Linked DNA regions of Homo sapiens: region 2 is linked to region 1. The links are contacts of gene promoters, found by promoter capture Hi-C in blood cells and fetal thymus (Javierre and others, 2016). All regions are on one chromosome and are shown on one strand. Each heading gives the region's core, a stretch centred on a gene start or on the middle of the fragment in contact. The rest is flanking DNA. Distances are from core to core; before and after follow the strand shown.

Region 1 (7,535 bases), core at 3,681-6,180:
CCCTTTCTCTGGGAGCTACCAAGCAACACATTCTTCTAAATATGGGGTCCCAAATTCTCCAGGGAATAAAGGGACACCAGGGCTATCCTGGAGTGTGGCTCGTTGTGGGCAGGAACCTTTGGGTTCTGACCAGGCTGCTGGCCCAGAGAGCTCCACTGCCTACTACCTGCGTGATCACACCGCAGCTGGGCGAGGAAGGGGAGGGTGAGCTGAGCGGGAGGCCAGTAGGAGCCTCAGCATCCCTACCCCTCCTCATATTCTCTCTCTCCTTGTTTTTTTTTTTTTTTATTTTTATTTTTTGAGATGGAGTCTCACTCTGTCACCCAGGCTGGAGTGCAATGGCGTGGTCTCGGCTCACTGCAACCTCTGCCTCCTGAGTTCAAAAGATTCTCTTGCCTCAGCCTTTCAGGTAGCTGAGACTATGGGCACATGCCACTACACCTGGCTAATTTTTGTATTTGTATTTTTTGTTTTTTATGCTGAGATGGAGTCTCACTCCCAACACGCAGGCTGGAGTGCAGTGGCACGATCTTGGCTCATTGCAACTTCCACCTCCAGGGTTCAAGCGATTCTCCTTCCTCAGCCTCCCGGGTAGCCAGGATTACAGGCGCGCACCACCATGCCCGGCTAATTTTTGTGTTTTTAGTAGAGACAGGGTTTCACCATGTCGACCAGGCTGGCCTTGAACTCCTGACCTCAGGTGATCCACCTGCCTCGGCCTCCCAAAGTGCTAGGATTACAAGCATGAGCCACCACACCCAGCCTAATTTTTGTATATTTAGTAGAGACTGGGTTTCACTATGTCAGCCAGGCTGGTCTCAAACTTCTGACTTCATGATCTGCCCGCCTCAGCCTTCCAAAGTGCTGGGATTACAGATGTGAGCTGTCGCACCTGGCCTTTTTTTTTTTTGAGAAGGAATCTCACTCTGTCACCCAGGCAGGAGTGCAGTGGCGCAATCTCGGCTCACTGCAAGCTCTGCCTCCCGGGTTCCAGTGATTCTCCTGCCTCAGCCTTCTGAATAGCTGGGATTACAGGCACCCGCCACCACGCCCAGCTCATTTTTGTACTTTTTTTTAGTAGAGACGGGTTTTCGCCATGTTGGCCAGGCTGGTCTCAAACTCCTGACCTCAAGTGATCCTCCTGCCTGGGCCTCCCAAAATGTTGGGATTACAGGCGTGAGGCACCGTGCCTGGCCTCTCTCTCTCCCCGTTCTCCCCATCCCCTGAGGCAAGTCACCAACCCCTCCACAAGCTGTTTTCCTCATCTGTACAAGAAGGATAACCAGGGACCTTCCCTTTGTTAAATGGAATCACAGAAGTAGACCGGGCACAGTGGCTCATGCCTGTAATCCCAGCACTTTGGGAGGTTGAGGCAGGCGGATCACCTGAGGTTGGGAGTTCGAGACTAGCCTGGCCACCATGGTGAAACCCTGTCTCTACTAAAAATACAAAATGAGCTGGGCGTGGTGGCGCATGCCTGTAATCCCAGCTACTCGGGAGGCTGAGGCAGAAGAATCACTTGAACCCGGGAGGTGGAGGCTGCAGTGAGCCAAGATTGGACCACTGCACTCCGGCCCGGGCAACAGAGCGAAACTCTGTCTCAAAAAAAAAAGTCCCTGGCCCGGTGCCCAGGCACAGCATGTGTGCAACAGATGCCAGACACGTTTTTGCTTCCCTTGCTTCTGGTAGTACCATCAGCACAGTGCAACTTACACAACCAGCCACTCAGACGCCTGACAAAACCACATAGAGGTGGGCTTGGATCAGCCCAGCTCCTCCAGAAGCCTCTCCCAGCTCAAGACCCCTAGCTGCAGAGGCTGCGCATCGCCCACCTGCGGCTGTCTTCCTCCTCACCTAAAGCCCCGTTGAGGTTCTGAAAGATCCGAGACTTATGATCCAGATTAAGGCTGAGTTTCTCCTAAATGGAATGAGATGCGATGGAGTGGTTAAAATGGAAGGAGTGGAAAGGACATCATTTCTCACTTTTCTCTCTCTTTTTTTCTTCTCTTGCTTTTGTTGCTTAGGCTGGAGTGCAATGGCACGATCTCAGCTCACTGCAACCTCTGCCTCCCGGTTTAATTGATTCTCTTGCTTCAGCCTTCCAAGTAACTGGGACTACAGGAGAGTGTCACCACGCCTGGCTAATTTTTGTATTTTTAGTAGAGACGGGGTTTCACCATGTTGGCCAGGCTGGTCTCAAACTCCCAATCTCAGGTGATCCACCCGCCTCAGCCTCCCAAAGTGCTGGGATTATAGGCATGAGCCACCATGGTTTTCCTTTTTTTGTGAGAGACAGAGTCTCATTCTGTCACCCAGGCTGGAATGCAGTGGTGCAAAACATCCTCAAACTCCTGGGCTCAAGTGATGGTCCCACCTCAGCCTCCCAAGTAGCTGGGATTACAGGCGTACACCATGAAGCCTGGCTAATTTTTTCTTTCTTTTTTTTTGTAGAGATGAGGTCTCAACTATGTTGTCCAGGCTGGTCTTAAATTCCTGGACTCAAGCAATCCTCCTGCCTAAGCCTCCCAAAAGTCTTGGATGACAGGCGTGAGCCACCACGCCCAGGCACACATTTTTCTCTTTGCAACCCCCTTTGCTCCCCAAATCCCATTCAGCCTGAGGCCTCCACTCCCACAGAGCTGCGGGATGCGCCCACTCCTCTGCCTTCCCTACCCTCAGTCCTGGGTCCAGGTAGAGCCGTGTGTAGAACAGCTGGTCGTCGTCATCATCCTTGTACTTCCACTGGCGCACGATTTGGTGGATGGTGGTGGCAAAACCGATGAATCCTGGCGGGGAGGGGGAGTGTTGACCTCGAGACTCCCAGGGTCCCAGGGCCTGTCCCCCAGGCTGTCTCCAGCCCTCAGGCGCCTTTAACACTCTGTGTCCCACCGCTCTTGGCCCCTCTGCCTTGGGCACTCTGCCACTCACCACCAGAATTGAGGAAGCGCTTCCCCGTGCCCACCTCAGGGTACTGCTCCGCCAGCCCCCACTCGGGCCAGCAGAAGCTCTCTGCAGAGAAGAGCAGGCGGCTGCCACTCTGGACGAACTTCTTCAGCAGCTCTGTGGGGCTGCCGGCCAGAATCACGTCGTAGCTGGGTGAGGAAGGGGAGGATGGGCAGGGGTCCACTGGGAACCTCAGCATCCTTACCCCGCTCCCTATCCCCAGCCCCGTTACCTATCCACAAACATGATGATCATATCCTCCCGGTCAGCGTATTTCTCCATTTCCTTCTTTAACCACCGGACCTTCTGTCCTCCACCAACTGTTCGAGCCACATCACCCCCTCGCCACTCCTCTCCCAGGCCCAGGGTCTGTGGAGAAGATTGCCCCGTGCCAGGCAAGGGGTGGGGAGTTGTGGGGGGAACTCCTGACCAGGCTTACCGTGGGGACCTGGGCATCCAGACTTCAGCCCACCCCTCCTGCTGGGACCCCCTCCCAGGGGCCTTTCCCTCTCCTCACCCGCACAGTGTAGTTGAAGAACTCCGCAGAGCGCAGGAAACGCAGGTACCCCTCGGTTTCAGCTGTGGCCACAGTGATCACCAGCAGCTTCTCTGTTACCAGAGGGAAATGGCACTTGAGATCCACCGCCCAGCTCCGGGCCTCACGTGCTTTGCTGTCCTCCCTCTCACTCGACTTCCCTCCCTTTCTTCCTTCCCATTCTTAAACTCTTCTCACCCAGGAACACTCTGACCCCAAGGAGGGCAGGGTGGGAGTGGTGCCCAGGAATTCCGAGTCCCTTTGCATAGGGAGGCTGGAAACCCCAGTTCAGGGTAGTGATGGGCGAGGGGCTTGGCGCGACTCAGCCTCAAGAGCACGCTGGGCGGGGGACGGGCCAGACACCTCCTCGAGCCTCCGACCCTCTCCGGGCCAGGCTGGCAGGCACGCCAGCCTCTGCCCCCTCGGCCGTGCCGGGCCTCCCCGGGATCTCACCTGGGTTGACCGGGTCTCGGCCCCGGGGCCGGTCGGAGGCTGAGGCCGCAGGGGGCAGCAGCAGCGGCAGCAGCAGCAGGAACCGGGGTCCAGGCCCCGAGGAGGTCATGGTGGGGAGCGGGCCCAGACAGCACCCAGGATCCTGGGATCTCCGCTACGCGCCTGGATCCCAGCTCCGGAGGGGAGCTCTGGAAAGGGGGCGCTCGGGCTGCTGTGCGGCCGCCGCGGGGAGCAGCTTGGCTGGGGCTACGCCCTGAAAAAAAGGCGTATCCGGAGGCTACAGAAAGCTCCAGATGCCGGCGCCACAGACAAGGCGAGGATTGTCCCGGGCGCACGGGAGGCGGGGGAGGGGCGGCGGCTCGGGCCGGCGGGCGGGAGACAGGGACTCTGGGCTGAGCCAGCCGCTTGACACATGTGGAAGCTGAAACCTGGACAGGGGAAGTGACCCCTGGCGGAGGGTCGGGCGGGACGCGGGGGCGGGTCCTGGCCGCAGCCCTGCCCAGAGAGTGCGGGCGGAAGACGGGGAGAGCGAGAGGCTGGCGGCGACAGGGAGGGAGGAAGCCTAGGAGTCCGCCGCGGGACGGAGGCCTGGGGGAACTGGGAGTTCAGCTTTCTGCAGAGGGCCACTAGGAACCTCGGATTGCCCACGGAAGCCAGCCACTTTCTTTGACAGTCCAGCCCACCTCCTCTTCTGCCCGGAGAAGCTCCAGGGGCTGCCTTTGTGATCACAGCATCTTCACAAGGACCAAAGGAAAATAAGATTTCTTGTAAGAACACCGTGACCACATCTTTAAAATGACCCATTTCGTGGCTCCCACAAGATTTACACCTCCACACTGAGGCCGGAAGTGGTTTTGCCCCTATAAAACATGGCGAAAAGCTTTCTTGTCTCCAAGGAAACGCCACGTAATGAGTCAAAGCTGTGGCGCACGCGCAGAAGTACAAGCTACCGGAAGTGATGGCGCCCCTACTAAAGCCTTGGGGTTAGTACGCGTGCGCAGCAGTTTCTTCCGACAGTTGTGTTGTGCCAATGGTGGAGAAGAAAACTTCGGGTATGTGAGCCCCCGCGGTTCGCCCCCTTCCCCTTCCCAAGTCAGTCCTAGAATTTTCTTACCTAGTCATTCCTCTTTTTTGGTCTCGCTCTTTCGCCTAGGCTGGAGTGCAGTGGCATAGTCATAGCTCACTGCAGCCTCGATTTCCTGGGATCAAACCATCCTCCCACCTCAGCCTCCGGAGTGGCTGGAACTGCAAGCATGAGGCCCCACGCCTGGTTAATTTTTAATTTGTTATGTGGTGACGGGCTCTCGCTATGTTGCCCAGGTTGGTCTCCAACTCTTGGCCTCAAAGCGATCCTCCTGCGTGGGCCTTCCAAAGTGCTGGGATTACAGGCGTGAGCTGCCGCGCCCGGCCCCAGCTATTCCTCGTAAATCCCTTCCTCAGCCCTCGGGTCCTGGCGTTGACCCTTCATTCACGTTTTATTGGTGCCTGCTCCAAGCCGGGCGCTGGGGATGAAGAGGAGAAAGACCCCTCTTATCCAAGCATTGGCTTTTTCTGGAAGGGGGGCAGAAACGCAGACCTAACACTGTATTTTACTGTGATTTGTGATTTGTGCTATGGCAGAGGGAAGCACAGCGCCTGGGAACAGGGAGACGTGGCATCTAGCCCAGGTTCTGGGAGGCAGGGGACTGTGAAAGCTTGAAGGAAAAATGAAAAAGCTTGAATTGAGTCTTGAAAGTCTAGTTAGGGTTTCTCTCAGTGGGAACCTCACGTGCAAAGGCAGTGAAGCAAGAAAAAGCAAGTCGCTTAGGAAGCCAAGTTCACAGTTTGGATCTTACAGAGTAATAAGAAAGGATCGAAGGCTGGGGAAAGGTTACATTTTGAAAGGCATTATACACACTGCCCAGGAGTTTGAACTCTGTAGGGAAACACTGGAGAGCCAGCAAAGACTTTTTTTTTTTAGACAGAGTCTTGCTCTGTCACCCAGGCTGGAATGCAGTGGTTCTATATAACTCACTGCAGCCTCAACCTCCCATGCTCAAGTGATTCTTCCACCTCAGCCACCTGAGTAGGTGGAACTACAGGTGGGTGCAGGCCACCATGCTGGGCTAGTTTTTATATTTTTTGTTGAGATGGGTGTCTCACTATGTTGCCCAGGCTGGTCTTGAACTCCTGAGCTCATGTGATCCTCCTGCCTCGGCCTTCCAAAATGCTAGGATTACAAGTATGAGCCACTGCGCTTGGCCCTTTTAGTTTTTCTTTCTTTCTTTTTTTTTCTTTTTGAGACGGAGTCTTGCTCTGTCCCCCAGGCTGGAGTGCAGTGGCGCAATCTCGGTTCACTGCAAGCTCTGCCTCCCGGGTTCACACCATTCTCTGGCCTCAGCTTCTGGAGTAGCTGGGACTACAGGCGCCCGCCACCACACCCAGCTTATCTTTTGTATTTTTAGTAGAGACAGGGTTTCACCATGTTAGCCAGGATGGTCTTGATCTCCTGACCTCGTGATCCACCCGCCTCGGCCCCCCAAAATGCTAGAATTACAGGCATGAGCCACTGCGCTTGGCCCTCTCAGTTTTTCAAAGGCATCGCAGTCTCCCAGCCATCAGTTTTTTCATGTTGGCCTCAAGGTCTGAAATACCCCGCTGTCTCCCCTAGCCAGGTCATTCACCAGTTAGGCCTTAACCTAGACTTACCTTCTTCTGGGAAGTCTTCCCTGACTACTCCAAGGCCAGGTTGGGTGTTTCTGTCCTGGGCTCTGCAGCACTTTATACTTCCGTATCCTAGCCTACTCCATGCTGTACTTACTGTGTTTGTTTCATTAATCATTTGTGTTTGCCACTGGACTGTAAGCTTTGGCATCCCTAAAACCTAGAGCACTGCCTGGCATTTGGAGGGGAGACAGAGTAGTACAGTGATCATAATCATATTTTTTTTTGTTTGGTTGGTTTTGGGTTTTTTTTTTTTTTTTTTTTTTTTTGAAACAGGGTCTTGCTCTGTCACCCAGGCTGGAGTGCAGTGGCACAAACACAGCTCACTGCAGCCTTGAGCTCCTGGGCTCAAGCAATCCTTGCGCCTCAGCCTCCTGAATAGCTGGGACTACAGGTGTGTCCCACTACACCTGGCTAATTTTTGTATTTTTTTTGTAGAAACATGGTTTTGCCATGTTGCCCAGGCTGGCCTCGAACTCCCGCGCTCAAACAATCCACCCACCTTGGCCTCCCAAAGTGCTGAGATAACAGGCATGAGCCACTGCGCCTGGCAAGGTCATGCTTTTTGATGCTGGGTAGTTCTTTGACTCCTGACCTGGCCACTTGTTAGCTATGTGAACTTTGGACACATTTCTTAATCTCTGAATGTTGGTAAATTGGGGATGATGATACTGTCCCATACAGCTGTTGTAAGGGTTAAATGGTTCAAGTGTTGCAAAGAGCTGAGCACGTGCCTGGCTCATAGTAAGTGTCCAACAAGTGATAGCTACTGGGGCTGCTGCTGTTATTATTATGCTTAACAGGTGGTTAATGAATAAAGAGATATATTATGCAAAATTATCAGAATCTGGCAAACAGCTGATAAGGCAATGAGGAAAGAGGTTTTTTGTTTTTTGTTTTT
Region 2 (7,535 bases), core at 3,438-5,937, 380 kb before region 1:
TTACGTCCCAGAAAGGACAGCCGGGCCTGTGATAACCTCTTGTCCCGGCTTACTTATCTTCCTGCTGCAAGAGGTGTTCCCCACACCCCTGCCCTTCCTTGCTGTTCTGCCTGGGTCCTGCGCCCGGGTTGGGGGGGGTGGGCCGGTCACCGAGGGCAGGAAACAGCCGGCTTCACTGGAGCCAGGCAGACCAGGCTGGAGCTGGGAATTCCCTCCTCCCTCCCCGATGCAGGCCCAGTCTCCCCTTCTCTTATTCAGCTTCTCCCTCGGGGTTCTCTGCAACCCTCTCCCAAACCCCTGCCCTGCCTTTTGCCACTCTCACTCTGTACCCAGATCCTGTAGCCTCTAAAAGTTATGTCTTCTGGCTGGGGACAGTAGCTCAGGTCTGTAATCTCAGCATTTTGGGAGGCCGAGGCGGGTGGATCACTTGAGCCCAAGAGTTCGAGACCAGCCTAGCCAACATGGTGAAACCCCTCTCTACTAAAAATACAAAAATCAGCTGGGCATCATGGCACACACCTGTAGTCCCAGCTACTAGGGAGGCTGAGGCACGAGAATCGCTTGAACCCGGGAGGCAGAAGTTGCAGTGAGCAGAGATTGCACCACTGCACTCCAGCCTGGGCAACAGAGCCACACTCTGTCTCCAAAAAATATATAAAGTAAATAAATAAGTAAATAAATAAATAGGCTGGGCGCAGTGGCTCACACCTGTAATCCCAGCACTTTGGGAGGCCGAGGCAGGCGGATCACCTGAGGTCAGGAGTTCGAGACCAGCCTGGCCAACATAGTGAAACCCCTTCTCTACTGAAAATACAAAACTTAGCCAGGTGTGGTGGTGCAGGCCTGCAGTCCCAGCTACTCGGGAGGCTGAGACAGGAGAATTGCTTGAACCCTGGGAGGCAGAGGTTGCAGTGAGCTGAAATCGTGCCACTGCACTCCAGCCTGGGCAACAGAGTGAAACTCTGTCTCAAAACATAAATTAATTAAACAATAGAAAACACTCATCTTAGTGGGGCACAGTGACTCATACCTGTAATGCCAGCACTTTTGGAGGCTGAGATGAGAGGATCGTTTCAGTCCAGGAGTTTGAGGGCAGCCTGAACAACATAGCGAGACCCTGTCTACAAAAAAAGAAAGAAAGAAAGAGAGAAAACATTCTATTCCATGTCAGGTCATCAGCCCACACCCCACACCAGGCAGTAATCTATTTTCTACCATCTAGTGTATGCCAGTCAAAGAATGAAAAAATGAAATCTTTACTGAGCATCTACTACGTGCCGAGTGATCACATTGCTAGTTTTCAAGATTTGTAAAACATGGTTCCTGGCCTCAAAGAGAATCTGGTAAAAATTAATATAGTTTTATGTCATCTGGTGAATTACAACCTGGTAGAAAAAAAATCCCATGATTTCCCCTTTACGTGGAGATGGCATCTGAGATTTTCACTTCAATTCTCAGGAACCACCCTTGGTCTATCCTGTGTGTGTGAAGTCATGTCCTCCACCCTTAGACCACCCAGAACCACTTCCCAGGCAAGCAAATTCAGTAGCCACTAAATTACAGAACGTGGGTGAACATTCACGTTACTACCTGAATCCATGCCTGTTCTGCAGACCAAACCAAACTCAGCCCTCCCTTCCTCATTATTAGAGCACTTTGCTGTTCCCTACCCAAAATATTAGGCTGTCACCTTTGTTCCCAGCCCAGAGCAATATACTGCTATCACACGGTGCATTGTCGGTACTTGCGCATAGCATCCACCAACAGCTACTGGAGTTTTCTTTTTCTTTTCTTTTGTATTTTATTTTATTTTATTTTTGGAGACGGCGTTTCACTCTTGTTGCCCAGGCTGGAGTGCAAAGGTGCGATCTCGGCTCACCACAACCTCTGCCTCCTGGGTTCAAGTGATTCTCCCGCCTCAGCCTCCCAGGTAGCTGGGATTACAGGCATATGCCACCACACCGGGCTAATTTTGTATTTTTAGTAGACGCGGGGTTTCTCCATGTTGGTCAGGCTGGTCTGGAACTCCTGACCTAAGGTGATCCACCTGCCTTGGCCTCCCAAAGTGCTGGGATTACAGGCGTGAGCCACTGCACGTGGCTCTTTTTTTTAGAGATAGGGTCTTACTGTATTGCCCAGGCTGGAGTGCAGTGGCACGGTCATGGCTCACTGCAGCCTTGACCTCCTGGGCTCGAGCAATCTTTCCTCAGCCTCCTGAGGAGCTGGGACCCCGCGCGGGGACCATGCCCGGCTAATAAGTTTACTTTTTCTTGTACAGATTGTGACAGTTGTTTTGAGTAATCCTGGAGTTACAGCTTTTCCTATTGTAAGAAATAACAAGCAGCAAATCACCCCTTTCTCCGTAAATTGTTGAACTTCTCATTACTCTTTCCACATCTCAGTCTCCCCTCTTCTGGGCCACCTAACTGTGTCGGGTCCAAAGTTCAGGTTTACCCCAAAGTTCATGAAGTTTAAGCTTCAGCACCTCTCACCTGCCTGGCTTCTTCCACGGCCCTGGTTAATAAGTGCCATAATTTAAACAGTTTTGAAGGTGAGTTTCAGCAGGACAACACTTGAAATGACCTGAAATCTTACAGCTCTGTTACAAAAGGAATTTGATAGAGTTTTCAACATTACCAATAGAGTTGTAAAGCTCAAATAAATTTTTATAAACAATGATGAAACCTTAAAAACTTAGCCAGGCTACTCGGGAGGCTGAGGCAGGAGAATCACTTGAACTTGGGAGGCGGAGGTTGCAGTGAGCCGAGATCGCGCCACTGCACTCCAGCCTGGCAACAGAGCGAGACTCCGTCCCACTCCCACCAAAAAAAAATAACTTAGCCAGGCACTGTGGCTCACACCTGTAATTCCAGCACTTTGGGAAGCCAAGGCAGGAGGATTGCTTGAGTCCTGGAGTTTGAGACCGGCCTGGGCAACAAAGTGAGACCCCTGTCTCTACCAGAAAATAAAAAATAAAAAATAGCTGGGCGTGGTGGCATGTGGCTATGGTCTCTCAGACACTGGGGAGGCCGAGGTGGGAGGATCACTGAGCCTGAGAGGTCTAGGCTGCAGGGAGCCGTGATGGCACCACTGCACTCCAACCTGGGCAACAGAGCGAGACCCCATCTCTAAGCAAAAATTAATCAGCCATCCTAGAGGAAAGACAGAGAAAGAATAGAAAATAATATTACAAAATCATCATATGAAGAGATGGTCAAAGAGTACACATCTAAGAAAAAGGTAGTAAATGCAAGTATTCCAGGGCTATATCAGTCTTCTTTACTATAAATGTTGTTATTTTTCTAGCTTGTATAATATTTATGATATTTGTCATATTTTAAACATTTGAGGTCAGCTGTGATTTCTTCTCTCAATCCAAAGATTTTATACCTTTTTTTTTCTTTTTTTAAGAGACAGGGTCTCCCTTTGTCACCCATGCTGGAGTGCAGTGGCACGATCGAGGCTCACTGCAGCCTCGAACTCCCAGGCTCAAGCGATCCTCCTGCCTCAGCCTCCCAAGTAGCTGAGACTACAGGCGTGTGCCACCATGCCTAGCTAATATTTTTAGTGTTTGTACAGACAGGGTCTCACTATGTTGCGCAGGCTGGTCTTGAACTCTTGAGCTCAAGTGATTGTCTAGCCTCAGCCTCCCAAAGTCCTATGATTACAGGTGTGATCCACTGCACCTGGCCTGGCTAATTTATTTTATTTTATTTTTATTTTTTGTAGACATGAGGTCTTGCTATGTTGTCCAGGCTGGTCTCAAACTCCTACCTAATTCTAGCACTGTGTGAGGCCAAAAAAAAAGTTGAAAAAAAGGCTGGGCGCAGTGGCTCACACCTGTAATCTTAGCACTTTGGGAGGCCGAGGCGGGTGGATCACCTGAGGTTGGGAGTTCAAGACCTGCCTGGCCCGTCTCTACTAAAAATAGAAAAATTAGCCAGTTACAGTGGCACACGCCTGTAATCCCAGCTACTCAGGAGGCTGAGGCACGAGAATTGCTTGAATCCAGGAGGCAGAGGTTGCAGTGAGCCAAGATTGTACCACTGCACTCCAGGCTGGGTGACAGAGCGAGACTCTGTCTCAAAGCAAAGCAAAACAAAACAAAAAGCAAAAAAACAAAACAAAACAAAAAAAAACAGACAAGGTATGGTGGCTCATGCCTGTAATCCCAGCACTTTGGGAGGCCGAGGTGGGAGGATCACTTGAGCCCAGGAGTTCCAGGCCAGCCTGGGCAACATAGTGAGACCCCAGCTCTAAAGAAAAAATAGCTGGGTGTGGTGGCTCACACCTATAATCCCAGCACTTTGGGAGGCTGAGGTGGGCGGATCACGAAGTCAGGAGATCGAGACAATCCTGGCTAACATGGTGAAACCCCATCTCTACTAAAAATACAAAAATTAGCCGGGTGTGGTGGTGGGCACCTGTAGTCCCAGCTACTTGGGAGGCTGAGGCAGGAGAATGGCGGGAACCCGGGAGGCGGAGCTTGCAGTGAACCCAGATCACGCCACTGCACTCCAGCCTCAGGTACAGAGCGAGACTCTGTCTCAAAAAAAAAAAAAAAAAAAAAAAAAAAAAGAAAGAAGGAAAAATTGAAAATGGAGGACACCAAGTCATTTTCTACCTTCCAGGATTAGACAAGTCAGGGGTAGAAACAGCCACGGGGCCTCACCAGCATCCAGGTGGCTAAGCGCACAGCCTAACTTGTGGTGCACAGAGGACCCTACAGGATCACGCAGGAAGCACAGCCGATGCAGGTTTCAGGTGAGCTTTCTGCAGAAGGTGATGATGTCTGAATGAGTCCTAGAGATTGGCAGGAAAGGAGTTTAAAGGCAGAGTTGTGAGGTCGCCCCATTCAGAGAGCTGCCAGAGTTCACAACGCCAGGTCAGAGAGGGCAAGGACAGTGACCATGGGTGAACTGGAGAGGTGAGTGAGGGCCAGCCTCAGGTCATTACGGGTTTTTGCAGGACTGCTCTGGGGAGCTAGTGAAGGGTTTTAGGCCAAGAAGCAACATTGCATGGTTTGTAGAGAAAGATCCCACTTATACAATTTTGGAGAATAGACTGAAAGGAATGAAGACTGAAGGCGGGGAAACCAGTGCAGCATCCAAGTGACTATGTGGGTTTGAACCCAGATAGGCGTGTATGTGTGAGTGTGTGTGTGTTGGGGGGGATGGTGCACGCATGTATGGAGCCGGGGAGGATTCAGGAGATAAGGGTTGGGTGCGGTGGCTCACACCTAGAATCCCAGCATTTGGGAGGACGCAGCTGGCAGATCACTTGAGACCAGGAGTACAAGACCAGCCTGGGCAACATGATGAATCCTCATCTCTACAAAAATTAGCCAGGCGTGGTGGAGCACGCCTGTGGTCCCAGCTGTTCGGGGGGCTGAGGTGAGAGGATCACCCGAGCCCAGGAGGCAGAGGTTGTAGTGAGATTGCACCACTGCATTCCAGTCTGGGCAACAGAGCAAGACCCTGTCTCAAAAATAAAAATAATGGGCTGGGCACAGTGGCTCACGCCTGTAATCCCAACTATACAGGAGGCTGAGACAGGAGGATTGCTTGACCCCAGGAGGTGGAGGCTGCAGTGAGCCGCCGTGATCACACCACTGCACTGCAGCCTGGGCAACAGAGTGAGACCCCGTTTCAACAAAAAAAATTAAAATAAACAAACAAAAGAGTGTGATTGGCCGGGTGCAGTGGCTCACGCCTGTAATCCCAGCACTTTGGGAGGCCAAGGCAAGTGGATCACCTGAGGTCAGGAGTTTGAGACCGGCCTGGCCAACATGGTGAAACCCAGTCTCTACTAAAAACACAAAAATTAGCTGGGCATGGTGGTGCGTGCCTGTTATCCAGCTACTTGGGAGGCTGAGGCAGGAGAATCGCTTGAACCTGGGAGGTAGAGGTTGCAGTGAGCTGAGATGGTTCCACTGCACTCCAGCCGGGGCAACAAAGCGAGGCTCTGTCTTTAAAAAAAAAAAAAATGCCGGGCGCGGTCGCTCATGCCTGTAATCCCAGCACTTTGGGAAGCCGAGGTGGGCAGATCCCGAGGTCAAGAGATCGAGACCATCCTGGCCAACATGGTGAAACCCCGTCTCTACTAAAAATACAAAAATTAGCTGGGTGTGGTGGTACGCGCCTGTAGTCCCAGCTACTTGGGAGGCTGAGGCAGGAGAATCGCTTGAACCCGGGAGGCAGAGGTTGCAGTGAGCTGAGATTGCACCACTGCACTCCAGCCTGGGTGACAGAGCAAGACTCCGTCTCAAAAAAAAAAACAACAAAAAAACAAAAACACACATACACAAAAGAGTGTGATTGACCCTTTAACATTTCATGCAGACTTTCCCATCCTGCTCCCCTCCCTAGTGCTGGGGATAGAGGAAGGGCTCTTGAGTGCTGTTGGAATAGCAAGAGGCTGAGAGAAATAGCTAGAAATGGCAGTGAGCATCAGTGAGCTGATAAGAATGAGAGAAGGGCAGAGCTTGTAGCAGAGGCCAGGGATGCCAAAGGGCATGGAGGTGGAGGAGAGAGAGGCTAAGGGGCTGGGGCCAGAGCTAAGAACGACTGTTCAGGGAGTGGAGTGGAAAGGTACAGGGTAGTGGGAGGGTTGGGGAGAGGTAGTGGGAGGCTCATTGTCCCAGCAGGGGGAAGTCTTTTGTTTCCTCTCTTCCCCTGACAGCCTGGCAGGATATGAGGCCAAGCCCCCCCATGCCAGCAGCATCCCAGCACCCACTGGACTGCACTGTGGCCCTTCCCTGACTATTGTGTCCTGGCTGGGAATGGGAGCAGGGGCAGGCAGGAGGCTGGCTCTAGGAGGGAAAGTAAGAAGGACTATTTGTGGCTGGAGGCCAGGATACCGGGGTCTGGAAGGGACAAGAAGCTCTTGGGCTGGTTAGGGAAGCTTGGCACAGAAAGATGTGTGTGGGGAGGAGCAGGAAGCCAGGCCGGGTGGGGCCGGCACCGAGGGTAGCAGGTCGGGCCAGGGGAAGGTAGGCCGGGCCCCAGAGGAGATGACGCAGGGCCTCAGCCCTCTCCCAGGCCCCACTCTTCCAGCCTGGGGACCAGAGAGCTCACCTGAACCTCAGAAAACCCACCCCCCGCTCCATTCCCTAAGGCTGACATCACCCCATGCGCCACAGCCCAGCAACCTGTCTGGCCAGAGCCTTCCACATCCAGCTGCTGCCCAGATACCCTCCCTCCCCAGGATCCAGGGGTCTAGCCTCGCACTGCTGCCCTCCAGGAACCCTGGAATTTCATCCCTCCCCTCGGCTCACTCCTGGGCCGTTTTGCCCCATCAGCTGTTCTTGCAGGAAGGGCGCCCTGCTCAGCTCGCCTCTCTTCCCGAGAGTCTTTTGTTTGCTGGGTCTGCAGGAAATTGGAGGGGCGGTGCCCAAGGGCTCATCTGCCCCTGGGACCTGGGGGAGGGGGGCGCAGATTCACCAGACTTAATCCTGGGGAGTTTACAGCAGGAATGGGGTGGGGGAGGGTGGGGGTGAGGTGGGCGGATCTCCAGGAAATTAGCATTTAAGGCCT

Evidence for each region. The method cuts DNA at HindIII sites, captures the fragments that hold promoters and counts their contacts. A CHiCAGO score of 5 or more calls a contact.
Region 2: a fragment that was not itself captured here is called in contact with the fragment with the promoter of ZNHIT1 in region 1 in 1 of 17 cell types (activated CD4 T cells); the score reaches 5.1 in activated CD4 T cells.

What each region holds. Positions count from the first base shown.
Region 1 is chr7:101,213,235-101,220,769 of GRCh38, forward strand. It overlaps ZNHIT1 (zinc finger HIT-type containing 1), which reads left to right and starts at 4,931. Exons shown (of 5, transcript NM_006349.3): 1 at 4,931-4,983. The coding sequence starts at 4,962. It overlaps PLOD3 (procollagen-lysine,2-oxoglutarate 5-dioxygenase 3), which reads right to left and starts at 4,347. Exons shown (of 19, transcript NM_001084.5): 1 at 3,932-4,347; 2 at 3,461-3,552; 3 at 3,176-3,312; 4 at 2,929-3,092; 5 at 2,674-2,786; 6 at 1,855-1,918. The coding sequence starts at 4,040. RefSeq lists enhancers at 3,453-3,975, 4,524-4,643, 4,737-5,278 and silencers at 3,774-3,893, 3,954-4,003, 4,144-4,423. The HindIII fragment of the contact is 814 bases long and covers 4,810-5,623 here.
Region 2 is chr7:100,829,384-100,836,918 of GRCh38, forward strand. It overlaps a transcript of SLC12A9 not described here. Among named protein-coding and RNA genes, the nearest start is that of EPHB4, 5.6 kb to the left of the region's middle. RefSeq lists enhancers at 1-531, 5,894-6,813, 6,814-7,535. The HindIII fragment of the contact is 4,427 bases long and covers 2,475-6,901 here.